Regions from separate parts of the Homo sapiens genome. Here regions 1, 3, 4 and 5 are each linked to region 2. The links are contacts of gene promoters, found by promoter capture Hi-C in human tissues and cell types (Jung and others, 2019). All regions are on one chromosome and are shown on one strand. Each heading gives the region's core, a stretch centred on a gene start or on the middle of the fragment in contact. The rest is flanking DNA. Distances are from core to core; before and after follow the strand shown. Region 1 overlaps HAMP (hepcidin antimicrobial peptide). Region 2 holds the start of ETV2 (ETS variant transcription factor 2). Region 3 holds the start of FFAR1 (free fatty acid receptor 1). Region 4 has its middle 22 kb from the start of SDHAF1. Region 5 holds the start of CLIP3 (CAP-Gly domain containing linker protein 3).

Region 1 (2,700 bases), core at 44-2,543, 360 kb after region 2:
TTTTTTTTTTTTGACACCAGGTCTTCTTCTGGAACTCCCAGTCTTAAATTATCCTCCTGCCTCAGCCTCCCGAGTAGCAGGGATGGTGCAACTGCACCGGGCTAGAAACTGGGACATTTAAAAGCGTGAGATACACCAGCACACAATCCATTAGCCATCTGGTGATGATGCCAACAGGTGTCGCAGAGCCTCCTGGAAACTCCATTGTATACTCATGAGAGAACCAGGGTGAAAAAGGCAAATAAACATCTTTGTAGGCCGGGCGTGGTGGCTCACACCTGTAATCTCAGCACTTTGGGAGACTGAGACGGGTGGATCACTTGAGGTCAGGAGTTCGAGACCAGCCTGGACAACATGGCAAAACCCCACCTCTACTAAAAATACAAAAATTAGCCAGGTGTGGTGGCACGTGCCTGTAGTCCCAGCTATTCAGGAGGCTGAGGCAGGGGAATCGCTTGAACCTGGGAGGTGGAGGTTGCAGTGAGCCAAGATCATGCCACTGCCCTCCAGCCTGGGTGACACAGAGAGACTCTGCCTCAAAAAAAAAAAAAAAAGAAAGAAAAAAAAGGAAAAAAAAAGGAAAAAAAAAGTCTTAGTAGTTTCCACCTTCAGGAGCCCTACAAAAGGAGTCCCTGGATCTTACTTTGAGAACCTTTATAGCAGTGTCCAATGTTTTGGCTTCCCTGGGCCACACTGGAAGAATTGTCTTGGGCCACACATAAAACACACTAACACTAATGACAGCTGATGAGAAAAAAAAAAATTGCGGAAAAATCTCATAATGCCTTAAGAAACTACAAATTTGTGTTGGGTGCATTCAAAGCCATCCAGGGCTGCATGTGGCCTCCAGGTTGGACAAGCTTGCCTTACAGGCACTGATTTCTACAGCTGTTTTAGGAAGATCTCAAGGAGAGGAAACATTAACTTTCATCCCCTATTATTGCAACATGAAGGGGGAGAACAGAAACAAATTTTCTTCACCAACTTTCCTGGCAACCTCCAGGACACACCAGCCCCACATGACCCACCAAGCACTGGTGCTTGCAAGGCAGGGTCAGGACAAGCTCTTAGCACAGACACTCGGCAGAGAGAAAGGACAACAGACACTCTGGTTTGGAAAACAAAAGAACCAGCCATTTTATTCCAAGACCTATGTTCTGGGGCAGCAGGAATAAATAAGGAAGGGAGGGGACGGGGGCAGGGCAGGTAGGTTCTACGTCTTGCAGCACATCCCACACTTTGATCGATGACAGCAGCCGCAGCAGAAAATGCAGATGGGGAAGTGGGTGTCTCGCCTCCTTCGCCTCTGGAACATGGGCTGTGGGAAGGAAGGGAATGTGAGCAGGGAACCGGCCTTAGCATGGGGAGGGAGCAGGGGGCTAGGAAAGGCATCACTGTTGCGCTCACCATCCAGCTGGCCCTGGCTCCAGCTCTGTCCTGGGGTTGCAGCTCTGCAAGTTGTCCCGTCTGTGAAAGCAGAAGGGGGTGCAGAGGATGGCAGGGGGCCCAGTGGACCTCTGAGACTGGCTCCCGGCAACCTGCTCCTCTCCAAGTGGTTTAAACCCAGAGCTCAAATGGACTCTTAGGAGGGGCCTTGCTTTCTTGCTTCTGCTCACCTTCCCATGGGCGGCTTTTCCTAAAAAAAAAAACCTCCCAGATCCGCCTCCTCCTCTTTCCACAGCTGCTACTCTTCTTTGGGATATCACCTTCCCCTGCCTGGATGCCAGTGCCAGCCTCCTAACACACCTCCCTGCATTCTTGCCCCTCAATCCATTTGCCACACAGCAGAGTCACTTTTTTTGTTTGTTTTTTAGACAGAGTCTTCCTCTGTTGCCCAGGCCAGAGTGCAGTGGCACAGTCATAGCTCCCTGCAGCCTTGACCTCCTGTGCTCAAGCGATGCTCCCGCCTCAGCTTCCCGAGTAGCTGGGACAGCAGGTGCACGCCACCACACCCGGCTAATTTTTTAATTTTTTGTAGAGGTGGGGTCTGGTTGTGTTGCCCAAGCTGGTCTTGAACTCCTGGGCTCAACTGATCTTCCTACCTTGGCCTCCCAAAACTCTGGGATTACAGGTGTGAGCCATGGTGCCTGACTGGCAGATTAAGTTTTTTAAAACATGGCCAGTGAGATTGTGGTTTTCTCCATTTTAAAAACCTACAGGAGGCTGGGCGCAGTGGCTCACGCCTGTAATCCCAGCACTTTGGGAAGCCGAGGTGGGAGAATCACCTGAGGTCAGGAGTTCAAGACCAGTCTGGCCAACATGGTGAAACCCTGTCTCTACTAAAAAAACAAAAATTAGCCGGGCGTGGTGGCAGCCGCCTGTAATCCCAGCTGCTCGGGAAGCTGAGGCAGGAGAATTGCTTGAACCCGGGAGGCGGAGGTTGCAGTGAGCCCAGATGATGCCACTGCACACCAGCCTGAACGACAGAGCGAGACCCTATCTCAGAAAAAAAAAAAAAAGCTTATGGGGGCTTCCTCTTTATTCCAAGGAAAAATCAGTGTCTGCATGGTTGCCCACAAGACTTAGGGACTGCCCACCCCTCAGCCTTATCCCCAAGTCCCACCATCTCCTCTTGTTCAGCCTGACCCTGGGCTATGCTGGCTTGTCCTCTCCTTAGGTCTTTGCTGCCTCCATCTCTCACCCTCCAAGACGAAGGTCAACTGTCACTTTCTCATGAAACACTTGCTTGACTGCCAGCCC
Region 2 (2,700 bases), core at 124-2,623:
GGAGTCTACACCTCTAGCCCCGGTGCCTCGGGACCCCAGTCCCCACCTCCCACCGCCTCTCCCCACACTCACCCGCCCCCCATGGAACTTCTGGGTGCAGTAACGCGGAGCCCCAGTCCAGCTGTGGGAAGCTTGCCAGGGATGAGCTTGTACCTGAGTTTAGGGAGGACTGTGAGCAATGAAAGAGACCCCTCAACTACCCACTCTCTAGTCTCTACTTGTCAGGGACTGGGAGTTATGGCCCCCCAGCCCGTATTTCAGCACCCCGCGCCCCCTTTTCCTTCACCCTCAGGGGTCAAGCACGCGGCCCCTCCCCACCCAGTCCCAGGAACCTAGGCACGCCCCCCTCCTCCCTTTGCCCTAGGATCCCAGCCTCCCCGCTTCTTCTCCAGCACTTAGGGGTCCCAGCCCGCAGCCACCTTTCCAGCATGTCTCTGCTGTCGCTGTCGGCGTGTCCCCTTGGAGTGCCAGATCAGGGAAACAGAAGCCTAATTTGGCTCCTTCTGCAGGCGATAAGGGGTTAGGGTCAGCAGAGGCCCCACCTGGACACCCTCCCCACACACGTTGTGGCAGCCTCGGCAGCCTACCAAGCCCTGCCAGCTTGTTCCCTGGAGGCACTTCCTGTGGGGATGCCTCATCCCAGTTCCACAGGTCCATGGATGCGATGAAGGCCTTCTGAATGTTCTGGGTCGGGAAAAGTCCAGATGGCAATGGGTGAGCTGGTGACACTTGGAGGCCCTGGAGTCTGGGCCCCAGCCCTAGCTTCCCTCAGAGCCAGGAGTCCAGGCCTCCGCTCCCTCCTTCCCCAGGAGCCTAAAATCTTGGTCCTGGGAGTGAGGGACCCCAGCTCTCTTCCTCTGTTAGACCCAGGAGTCCAGGCCCCCGGCTTCTTGGGAGTCTAGTCCCCCAGGTCCTTCCTAACCCAGACACCCAGGCATCTAGTCCTCAGTTCATCGCTCACCTCTGGCGGGTTCCTCTGCCCCCAGCCGGGGGTCTCAGCCCCATTTCATACCATGCACCCCCTCCCCCAAGGGCCTGGGCAAGGGGGAATTTTCCGAGACGTCAGAGCAGGGGTCGCAGCCAGGCTCAAGTTGCAGAGGCAGGGGCGGGGCCGAGCCTCGACCCCAGCCTCGGGGATAGGTGCTGGCCTCTGGGGCTGCCCTGCTGCAGGGGTGGCGTGGGCTTGGAGCGAGGCTTGGGGAACAGCGGGCTGGGTGAGGGCAGGGCGGAGGCTGGGAGAAGTTTACGGGGTGATGGGGGCGGGGCGGGGGGCTTGGTGAACGGGCTGTCTGCCTCAGGGTCTCGATCCTGCGACATGGGGGGAGTGAGGGGAGAGGGTCTGGGGTCAGCTGGGCTAAGCTGGGCTTATCTGCAACAGGAAGAGGGATTTCCGGCCAGATTCCCCCACCCGCCCCCAGCGTCAGCTGACGTCACAATCGGCAGAGTAACTGCGGGGGCGTGGAGCAGGAGTGAAGGCCCACCCAATCCTCCACCAGGCCCAGTAGGGAGGGCGTCCTGGGGCTGCTTCCCAGGAGTGCCAATCATAGCAATATTGACATCAACAATTTCAACAATAACAATAGTAGCAATAACGGCCAACATTAAATGAGGGCTCATTGTGTGAAACCAACTGTGCCATACCCCTTCATTGAATCCTTCTATGAGGCAAGTACAATACATACTCTCATTTGATGAAGGGGGAAGGTAAGGCAGGCATCCTCCCACTGCTCTCCTTCTCCAGACCCCATGCCCTTCCGCGCTGTAATAGTTTAGGACAATTGGGGAAACTGGAGTATGAACTGAATATGAAATATCATAGAATTCTTTTCTTAGATTTGATAATGGTATTCAGGAGGAAAGATATCATTTAGAAAATGAACTCAGAGATGAAATGTTATAATGTCTGTAACTTGTGGTTGGGCGCGGTGATTCACGCCTGTAATCCCAGCACTTTGGGAGGCTGAGGCGGGTGGATCATCTGAGGTCAGGAGTTCTAGATCAGCCTGTCCAACATGGTGAAACCCTGTCTCTACTAAAAATACAAAAAATTAGCCAGGCGTGGTGGCGGGTGCTTGTAATCCCAGCTACTCGGGAGGCTGAGGCAGGAGAATTGCTTGAACCAGGGAGATGGAGGTTGCAGTGAGCCAAGATCATGCCATTGCACTCCAGCCTGGGGAACAAGAGCGAAACTTCATCTCAAAAAAAGAAACAACAAAAAAAAAGTCTGTAACTTGCTCAAATAATTCAGCAAAAAACAACAAAAAACCACAGCTATACATGTAACATATACATACATACATGAAATATTTAGGACATACCTAAACTATAAAATTGTTCACGTAAAATTCAATAACTGGGTGTCCTATATATATATAAAATATTTTTCGAGATGGAGTCTCACTCTGTCGCCCAGGCTGGAGTGCAGTGGTGCGATCTCAGCTCACTGCAACCTCTGCCTCCCGGGTTCAAGCAATTCTGGTGCCTCAGCCTTCCAAGTAGCTGGGATTACAGGCAAGCACCACCATGCCCGGCTAATTTTTTGCATTTTTAGTAGAGATGGGGTTTTGCCATGTTGGCCAGGCTGGTCTCGAACTCCTGACCTCAAGTGATCCACTTGCCTCGGTCTCCCAAAGTGCTGGGATTACAGGCGTGAGCCACCATGCCTAGGCTAATTTTTGCATTTTTAGTAGAGATGGGGTT
Region 3 (2,700 bases), core at 201-2,700, 290 kb after region 2:
GGCCCCACCCACCTGGCGTCTGGATCTTTGCCCAAGGTCACCTTCTCCGAGGGCCTTCCCGGGTGCCTCAGCCACACTCATCCCTCCTGTGAATCTCACTTTTGTTGTCTTTCTTCAGTGCGACATCGTCTTGGCTGGCTCCTGAGCTAGAATGCCGGCCTCCTGAGGGCAAAGGCTTTGGTCTGCTTTGTCTACTACACGTTGCACAGCAGGTGTTTGGGAACCTAAATGCACGATCCATTGTCTGGACCCTGGGAGGACTGTGAGAGCTGGGGTTGTGGAGGGCGGCCTGCGTCTGGAGTCCTGGCCCCCTAGCTTCCTGGCCACCTGCTCTTCACCTGCTCTTCACGCCTCAGCAATGTCTATTGATGGCCATATCTCATGGTCAATCAGCCATGTAGTAGGTTTATGTCAGCAGCTGTGCTGAGGGACAGGGTGGGAAGGGGAAGATGCTCGATGGTTGCCAGGGAGCTTAAGCCAGGCCCTTCAGGCTTAGGACTGCCTCAGCTCCCTCCAGGGTATCTTGCCTTAAAAACCCTTGGCGGCTCTCGACTAGAGATCCCCAAGGTTGGTCCTACGCCTTATCTTTTTGGTGTCCTAACAACTGGCTCTGTACTGGGTGCATTTCCAGGTGCTCAGTATCTGTGTGCAGAATGAATGAAGAAAGAGTTGAATGACACCAGACCCCATTTTGGGCACAGACACCCCAACACCCTCCTGTCTCATTTAAACAGTTTTTGTTGTTGTTGTTTTGAGGCGGAGTCTCACTCTGTTGCATAGGCTGGAGTGCAGTGGCGTGATCTCGGCTCACCGCTACCTCCGCCTCCCAGGTTCAAGCGACTCTCCTGCCTCAGCCTCCCAAGTAGCTGAGATTACAGGTGTGAATCACCACGCTCAGCTAATTTTTGTATTTTTGGTAGAGACAGGATTTTACCATGTTGGCTAGGCTGGTCTTGAACTCCTGACCTCAGGTGATCTGCCCACCTTGGCCTCCCAGAGTGCTGTGATTACAGGCGTGATCCACCACGCCTGGGCTTTAAACAGTTCTTAAAGCCTCACCTTCCTCCAGAAAAGTTAATGGTGCTCACAAGAATCAAACCAGGGACAAAGTGGATTGATGGGGCGATCAAGGCCTCCCTGAACCATAATTCCTAGAGTTACCGTCCGGGTACTGAGCAGAGATGGGAGGGAAAGGAAGGTGGGAGAGGAAGGTGGCAGTTTGGGGACACCTGCCACGTGCCAGGAGCCAATCTCCCTGATGATCAGATAATTACACCCCTGCCCTCTAAGGAGAATGGGCTTTAGCCCCTTTGCAGAAGCAGGTGAATGGGTGGAGAAAGATCAAACCCGAGAAGCGGAGAGGGGAGCTGGGGCACCTAACTGGAAAGTCTGAATCAGTGAACAGAATTAGAGAACGGGTGCAGAGGACCTCGAATGACAGAAAAGCTGTGAGGTTTCTCAGGGTGGCTGGTCTTCAAGACTTTCTCTGGCAGCTATGGGTTGTGCAAGAATTGGGTAGCGTCACTTTTGGGAAGAGCTGTTTTGAATCGGCTTCCCCTTTTCACATTCTTCGAAAAATGCAAATAAAGGATGGAGGTTGGTTTTCTGGGGGACTTTCGGCTTCTGTGCTGGGTCTCAATGTGGCTCCAGCATATAGAAGACGATGCCTCACTTCCTATCGTGGGCCACCTGCGTGGTAGGCAGTGGCCTTTCCCTCTCCACTTTACAGATGGAGAAGCCGAGACTCAGGCAAGCTGGCGAGCCCTGCCAAGATCACCGGGCTAGTTAAGCCGAAGAATCAAGATTCAAGTTCTCATGTTTGTCTGTCTGCAAAGCCAGTATGCTTTTCCTAACAAGACACCAGACTCTCTAATCTGCTGGTTTGATCAGTAAACCACTGTGACTCCATTTCCTTCCCCCCAGGCCCCATGAAGACTTTCCCCTCTCCTCATCCCCACTCTGACTCCACAGACTGAAAAGAGTTCACTGGTTCTTTGAAGTGGCATCTGAGCCATTTTTATTGTGAGCTCTGTCTCCCTGGCAGGTTAATCCACACCAGTGTGTCCATCTCAAACCCGGAGTCCCCAGAGTCAAGGGGCCGCTGATACGTACGTCTCCCCGTGCAATGCCTCACTTCCAAAGGAGAAGCCAGGCCAGGACTGGGCCCCTTTCTACTTCGTTTCTGTCCTTTTCTGGGCTTTCCCTCAGAGGCAGAAACTGGGCATAATATTCGTGAGTGGGGATGTCAGATCAGGGGTAGAGGGCCAGAGAGATGGAGAAGGGAAGGAAAAATGATGACGAGCAGATCCCAGGAGGGACACAAGCAGCTGGGGGTGGAGATGGCCAGTGGCCGTGGTGGGGGCAGGGGGAGGTGTGCATGTCAGGGCAGGTATTTAGATGGATTTCTGGGTAGCAAGGAGAGTGGAAGAGAACAGGGGCAGGAGTTTTGGAGGTTTGGGGTTACCCTCACCAAAAAGACTGGCTCTGAGCCAGGCACAAGGTTCTCCGCAGTGAGTGTGTGTGTGTGTGTGTGCGTGTGTGTGTGTGTGTGCGCACATGCGCGCAGGAGGAAGCCATGTGGCGGTGTCTGGGGAAACTCGGGGACTTCCCTGGCCCCCGCTGCCCCCAGTGCCTCTGCTGCAGCCCATCCAGTGTCAATGTTTGAGGATCACATAGTCCACATTTTCTTGTGCCTGAGGC
Region 4 (2,700 bases), core at 109-2,608, 330 kb before region 2:
TAGAAGTCTGGCTCTGGGACAGGCGTAGTGGCTCACATCTGTAATCCCAGCATTTTGGGAGGCCAAGGTGGGAGGATCACTTGAGCTCAGGAATTAGAGACCAGCCTGGGCAACATAGGAAGACCTCATCTTTACAAAAAAAATTAAAAAATTATCTGGGCATAGTGGCACATGCCCGTGGTCCCAGATACTTGGGAAGCTGAGGAGGGAGGATGGCTTGAGCCTGGGAGGTTGAGGCTGCAGTGAGCTATGATAGTACCACTGCACTCCAGCCTTGGCAACAGAGTGATACCCTGTCTAAATAAACAACAGAGTGACATCCTGTCTAAATAAATAAATAAGTCTGGCTCTGGGACTCAGAGCGCTCACCCCAGATACTGGAGTTGTCACCACCTAGGTGTTCTAGTCTCTAGAACTTGAGAACCCAGCAGTCCCAGCCCTATAGCCAAGTTGTTCCCATGCCCAGGACCCAGAAGCCCTGGCCCCAGACCCAAAGAGCCCTGTCTCTGGGCCCTAGAATTATTTTCCCCGCACCCCCCAACTCAGCAGTCTTGCCCCCAGGACCCAGAGGCTGTCCCCTTCCAGGGACCCTACACCCTTGCCCCAGGAATCAGCCTCCAGAACTAAGGAGTGTCATTCCTAAGTCCCAGAATCCCCTTTACCCAGCAGCCTATAACCCTTTCCCTTGAAGGGTCACTCACGGCAGCCAGCCCAGAAGCTCGAGGGCTCAGTGTTGACACTGAGGCCTGACAGGGTGTACACAGACATGGAAGCACTCCCAAAGCGTAGGCAGGGAGCTGGGGAAGGGGCATATCCAGGCACGGCACTGGCCTCGAAGGGTGTAGGTGTCACACTTGGTGGCAGTGGCTAAGGGGCCCCTTTGGGGCTACAGGGACAGCACAGGGCCCCCAGTCTCCTGTGGGGACTAAGGCTTGGCTCAGGGTATCAGGTGGCTGCGGGGCCCAAATGCACGAAGACCAGTGGATCTGGACTGCCCATGTCATGGTCCTGCCTGAATGAAGTCACTGCACAGTCTGCCTTGTGTGAGTGGCAACCTTCAGCCACGTGCAGTGACGTGTGTGCTGCCGGTTGTAAAAGAGATGCAGTGTGGGCGGTTCTTGCTCCAGACCTGCCTCTGCCCATGGTTCTGAGGTGTGGAAGTACAACCATAGCCATCTGTCGCCCAGGATAACTGACAGCCCCAGCTGCTGTGGGTTCCCCTGCAGGAGTGACCAAGAGCTGGGGTCTTCAGAGGGGCTGAATTCCTGAGCATCGGGGAGGGGTGGAGGATAAGGAGGTTGAGGGGGTTGGATTCTGGGATATTGAGAGTGGGGCCTTTGCAGATCTAGGATGCCCCACCCTCGTCTACTAACCAAGAATCTTTCTTTTTCTTCTTCTTCTTCTTTTTTTTTTTTTCGAGACAGAGTCTCACCCTGCCGCCCAGGTTGGAGTGCAGTGGCACAGTCTCGGCTCACTGCAAGCTCCGTCTCCTGGGTTCACGCCATTCTCCTGTCTCAGCCTCCCCAGTAGCTGGGACTACAGGCGCCTGCCACCACGCCCCGTAATTTTTTGTATTTTTAGTAGAGACAGGGTTTCACTGTGCTAGCCAGGATGGTCTCGATCTCCTGACCTTGTGATCCGCCCACCTTGGCCTCCCAAAGTGCTGTGATTACAGGTGTGAGCCACCGTGCCCAGCTAACCAAGAATCTTTCTGTGTGTGTGTGTGTGTGTGTGTGTGTGTGTGTGTGTGTGTGTGTGTGTGTGTGTTTAAGTAGAGACGAGGTTTCGTCATGTTGCCCAGGCTGGTCTGGAACTCCTGAGCTCAAGCAGTCTGCCCACCTTGGCCTCCTAAAGTGCTGGGATTGTAGATGTGAGCCACCATGCCCAGCCTCTATCCGGGAATCTTTTTTTTTTTTTTTTTTTTTTTTGAGACAGAGTCTCGCTCTGTCTCCCAGGCTGGAATGCAGTGGCGAGATCTTGGCTCACTGCAACCTCCACCTCCCAGGTTCAAGCAATTCTGCTCTCTCAGCCTCCTGAGTAGCTGGGATTACAGGCGTGCACTACCATGCCAAGCTAATTTTTGTAGTTTTAGTAGAGACAGGGTTTCACCATGTTGGTCAGGCTGGTTTTGAACTCCTGACCTCGTGATCCGCCCGCCTTGGCCTCCCAAAGTGTTGGGATTACAGGCGTGAGCCACTGTGCCCGGCCTTCTTTTTTTTTTTTTTTAAACTGGGAGTCTTGATTTCAATATCCAGATTTGTCCTAACACAATACTTGCAAGTCCTCTTCTCAGGAATCTAGATGAGTAATCCTACCAAGGAGCCAGGTGTGCCCACCTCATCCAGTAAACAGGAGAGCCTTCAGACAGGACCCAAGGGCTTCCCCCATTACCAAGAGCCTCCACCTGTCCTTCCAGATCAAGGGGTACCTCCTTTCTCCCAGTCCATGATTTCCTTATTTTGCCTCACTTGGTGGTTTCCAGCCCACATTTCTCCTGCGTTCACTGCCCCACCCTGGTCCAAGCCCCATTGTCTCCTGCCGGGACTACTGCAGCAGCCTCCTCACTGTTGTTCCTCCAGGCCTCATTCCTTCACAAGCCCTGTAATCTGTTCTCAACTGGCAGCCACAGGGATGTTGTTAGTGTCTGATATAGTTTGGCTATTTGTCCCTGCCCAAATCTTGGCAGGGCGCAGTGGCTCA
Region 5 (2,807 bases), core at 268-2,767, 390 kb before region 2:
CCACTCCACTCCAGCCTGGGGAACAGTGAGACTGCCATCTCAAAAAAAAAAAAAAAAAAGAGCCAGTGCAAAGGTCCTGGGGTAGGGAGAAGCAAGGAGGCCAGTGTGGCTGGGGTGGAGTGAACAAAAGAGGGTGAGAGGAGGTGAGTGCAGAGATGATGGGGCAGGTTCACATAGGCCCTTGTGGGCCATGGCTGAGAGCCTTGGCTTCTACCTGGAGTGAGGTGCAGCAGGCAGACCCCTCTGAGGGAAAGAGGGCTCCAAAGTGACAGGTGTTCATGGGTCCCTGTGGCTGCATGTTGGAGGAGGACGGGGACAGCAGGTAAGAGGCTGCTGCCGTAGTGCTGGTGGCAGAAGAAGAAGGATGGACCAAGATGAGGGCCCAGGGTAGCGGTGGGGAGAGTGAGATCCTGGAAATCTTTTGGAGATGGAGCTACTGGACCTGTGCATTAGAAGGATGAGGTGTTCAAGGCTGTCACCCAGCCCCATCCAGGCTGGGATGATTTGAGGCAGAGCAGGCTACAGCTCCAGGTGGGAAGCCAAGCCATGACAATGGAGCCAGGACCCTGGGCTGGCTTCAGGAGGCCTCCGTGGGGAAGATACAGGTTCTGAGAGAGTTGGAGGGGTCAATCGGCAGATCTGTTTCCCAGACACTGCTACAGGCATGTAGCATGGTGATTAAGAATCAAAGCTGGGCATGGTGACTCGTGCCTGTAATCTCAGCGCTTTGGGTGGCAGGGGCAGGAGGATCCCTTGAGGTCAGGAGTTCAAGACCAGCCTGGGCAACATGGCAAAACCCTGTCTCAAAAAAAATTCTCCAGACATGGTGGCATGCACGTGTGGTCTCGGCTACTCGGGAGGTTGAGGTGGGAGGATGGCTTGAGCCCAGAAGTTTGACGCTGCAGTGAGCCAAGATCACAACACTGCACAGTAGCCTGGGTGACAGAGTGAGACCCTGTCTAGGAAATAATAAAAATAAAAATCAGACTTTACAGACTGTCTGGTTTCAAATGTTCGCTCCATCACCTACTCATGTACTTTTGGGCAAGCTGCTTAACCTCTGGGCCCCAGTGTGTGAGCCTCGCATTATGATGGTAAGGATGAGATGATCATGATAGGAGTCTCTAGGAAATCACCCCTCTGAGGCACCCATTATGAATGGTGAGCTTGGAGAAGGGGTCCGGTCTAGGGTCCTAGAGAGAGGGTCCCCTAGAGGGTCCCCATCGTCACCACGCCCCAAGACCACTGCCCTCACCGGCCTGGTTTGCAGGCGTGGGGGAAGGGGATGGAGAAGATCTGTGTCCGCTCTCTCAGCCCTCTCTTTTGCCGTTGTATCTGCTCATCTCGCTCCTTTCCGTAGCCATCTCTTCCTCTCCCAGTGCCCGGAGGCTCTCCCCTTTCAGTCGCCGCCTCTGGCCCCTCCATCAATGCGAGCGCCTCCCGGTCCCTCCTCCTGGTCCCTCCTCCCCCGCCGCCGGTAGGGGGGCAGCAGGCGCATGCGCAGTCGCGCCCCTCCCTCTCCGCCCCCACCCCCTGTCGGCGTCTGGGCCTCGTCCCCTTCTCTCTGTCTCCCTTGCCTCCCCCATCACGTCCCCTGACACCGACACCCCATTGCTCCCACAGTCTCCCCAGTCTCCACTTTGGTCCCCAGCGCTGTCTGCCCGAGGTAAGATGGGGAGGGGGCGGCCCGCGGAGAAGGGGAGGGGCGAAGCATCCTGAATCCCGAGATAAACAAACCCGGGGAGGGGGCAGCCGCGACTGAGGGGCCTGACGCGGGAGGAGAAGAATGGGGGGCTGGGCCTGGGGGAGGTGGCAGGCGCTGGGCGCACACACCGGGGCCCTCTATGGGTAACGGGGGTCCCTATGGTTGCCCAAGATCCAGTTGCGCGGAGGCCACCCGGGGCCCTGGAAGCTCCTAGGGGCTTGGACCCTGGAGCCTGCCGGGCACCCTCTCCAGCTGACCTCTGCCTCCAGGATTTGCCTGAAGGCTGCCCCCAACTCTGCACCCGCCCCCCGAGGGCCACCGAGGACCATGACTAAGACAGATCCTGCCCCGATGGCCCCGCCACCCCGAGGAGAGGAGGAAGAAGAGGAGGAGGAGGATGAACCCGTCCCCGAGGCCCCCAGCCCCACCCAGGAGCGCCGGCAGAAGCCTGTTGTGCACCCCTCGGCACCTGCCCCCCTCCCTAAGGACTACGGTAACCACTGTCCCCACCCTGGAATCTGGCCTGGAGCGTTGGGTGGCCGGGGAGGGTGGGCTGTGCTCTGCTGGTGGTGATGGTGGGAGAATTCTGGGGAATTTGAAGGTGGTCCAGAGGAATCTTGGCTGCAGAGCACCCCTCGTTAATTCATTCATTCACCCATTGGAGAATGGAATTGTAATACTCCTAGTCTTTGACTCATGACACATCATTCCATCATTTAGTCATTCAACAATCATTTTTTGAAAGCGGCTGTGGACCTGGCTTTATGCTAGGGGCTGGGGCCACAGCAGGGGGCAAGAGAGACCCAGTCTTTGCCCTGAGACAACTCACAGGCCTCAGTAACAGCCACACAAATAGGTATTAAACCATAATGTAATTTTTCACATTTAGGTTTATATGCAAGAAAGAAAAATATAATGTAATATAAATATGTAATTACAAGACATTATGAAAATTGTATTTACCATAAACAAGCTGCTGCAAGAGTTTTTTAAGACATTGTTTCCCTGAGGAGGTTACAGTTGAGAAGACTGGAGGGTGAGTTGGGGTTAACTAAGAGAAGGGTCAGGGGAAAGGGCTCCCAGGAGAGGTAACCGCTGGGTA

What was found. The method cuts DNA at HindIII sites, captures the fragments that hold promoters and counts their contacts. A contact is called where the count stands out against the background at its distance.
Region 1: a contact is called between a fragment that was not itself captured here and the fragment with the promoter of ETV2 in region 2, in 2 of the 25 tissues and cell types used here (dorsolateral prefrontal cortex and mesenchymal stem cells).
Region 3: the fragment with the promoter of FFAR1 here is called in contact with the fragment with the promoter of ETV2 in region 2 in 2 of the 25 tissues and cell types used here (dorsolateral prefrontal cortex and lymphoblastoid cells).
Region 4: a fragment that was not itself captured here is called in contact with the fragment with the promoter of ETV2 in region 2 in 1 of the 25 tissues and cell types used here (lymphoblastoid cells).
Region 5: the fragment with the promoter of CLIP3 here is called in contact with the fragment with the promoter of ETV2 in region 2 in 2 of the 25 tissues and cell types used here (mesenchymal stem cells and ovary).

What each region holds. Positions count from the first base shown.
Region 1 is chr19:35,283,556-35,286,255 of GRCh38, reverse strand. It overlaps HAMP (hepcidin antimicrobial peptide), which reads right to left. Exons shown (of 3, transcript NM_021175.4): 2 at 1,408-1,467; 3 at 1,113-1,318. The coding sequence ends at 1,214. Among named protein-coding and RNA genes, the nearest start is that of HAMP, 2.4 kb to the right of the region's middle. The HindIII fragment of the contact is 4,818 bases long and covers 1-2,700 here.
Region 2 is chr19:35,640,418-35,643,117 of GRCh38, reverse strand. It overlaps ETV2 (ETS variant transcription factor 2), which reads right to left and starts at 1,373. Exons shown (of 7, transcript NM_014209.4): 1 at 962-1,373; 2 at 588-684; 3 at 420-503; 4 at 73-153. The coding sequence starts at 657. RefSeq lists an enhancer at 502-1,217. The HindIII fragment of the contact is 9,443 bases long and covers 1-2,361 here.
Region 3 is chr19:35,346,652-35,349,351 of GRCh38, reverse strand. It overlaps FFAR1 (free fatty acid receptor 1), which reads right to left and starts at 1,450. Exons shown (of 2, transcript NM_005303.3): 1 at 1-1,450. It overlaps CD22 (CD22 molecule), which reads right to left. Exons shown (of 14, transcript NM_001771.4): 14 at 1,991-2,700. The coding sequence ends at 2,655. RefSeq lists a silencer at 120-320 and enhancers at 1,599-1,678, 2,279-2,378. The HindIII fragment of the contact is 9,647 bases long and covers 1-2,700 here.
Region 4 is chr19:35,972,090-35,974,789 of GRCh38, reverse strand. No RefSeq gene overlaps it. Among named protein-coding and RNA genes, the nearest start is that of SDHAF1, 22 kb to the left of the region's middle. RefSeq lists a silencer at 1,036-1,236. The HindIII fragment of the contact is 9,546 bases long and covers 1-2,700 here.
Region 5 is chr19:36,031,583-36,034,389 of GRCh38, reverse strand. CLIP3 (CAP-Gly domain containing linker protein 3) reads left to right here and starts at 1,517. Exons shown (of 14, transcript NM_015526.3): 1 at 1,517-1,666; 2 at 1,975-2,198. The coding sequence starts at 2,033. All of the region lies in intron 3 of LOC101927572 (a long non-coding RNA gene), which reads right to left. The HindIII fragment of the contact is 12,641 bases long and covers 1-2,807 here.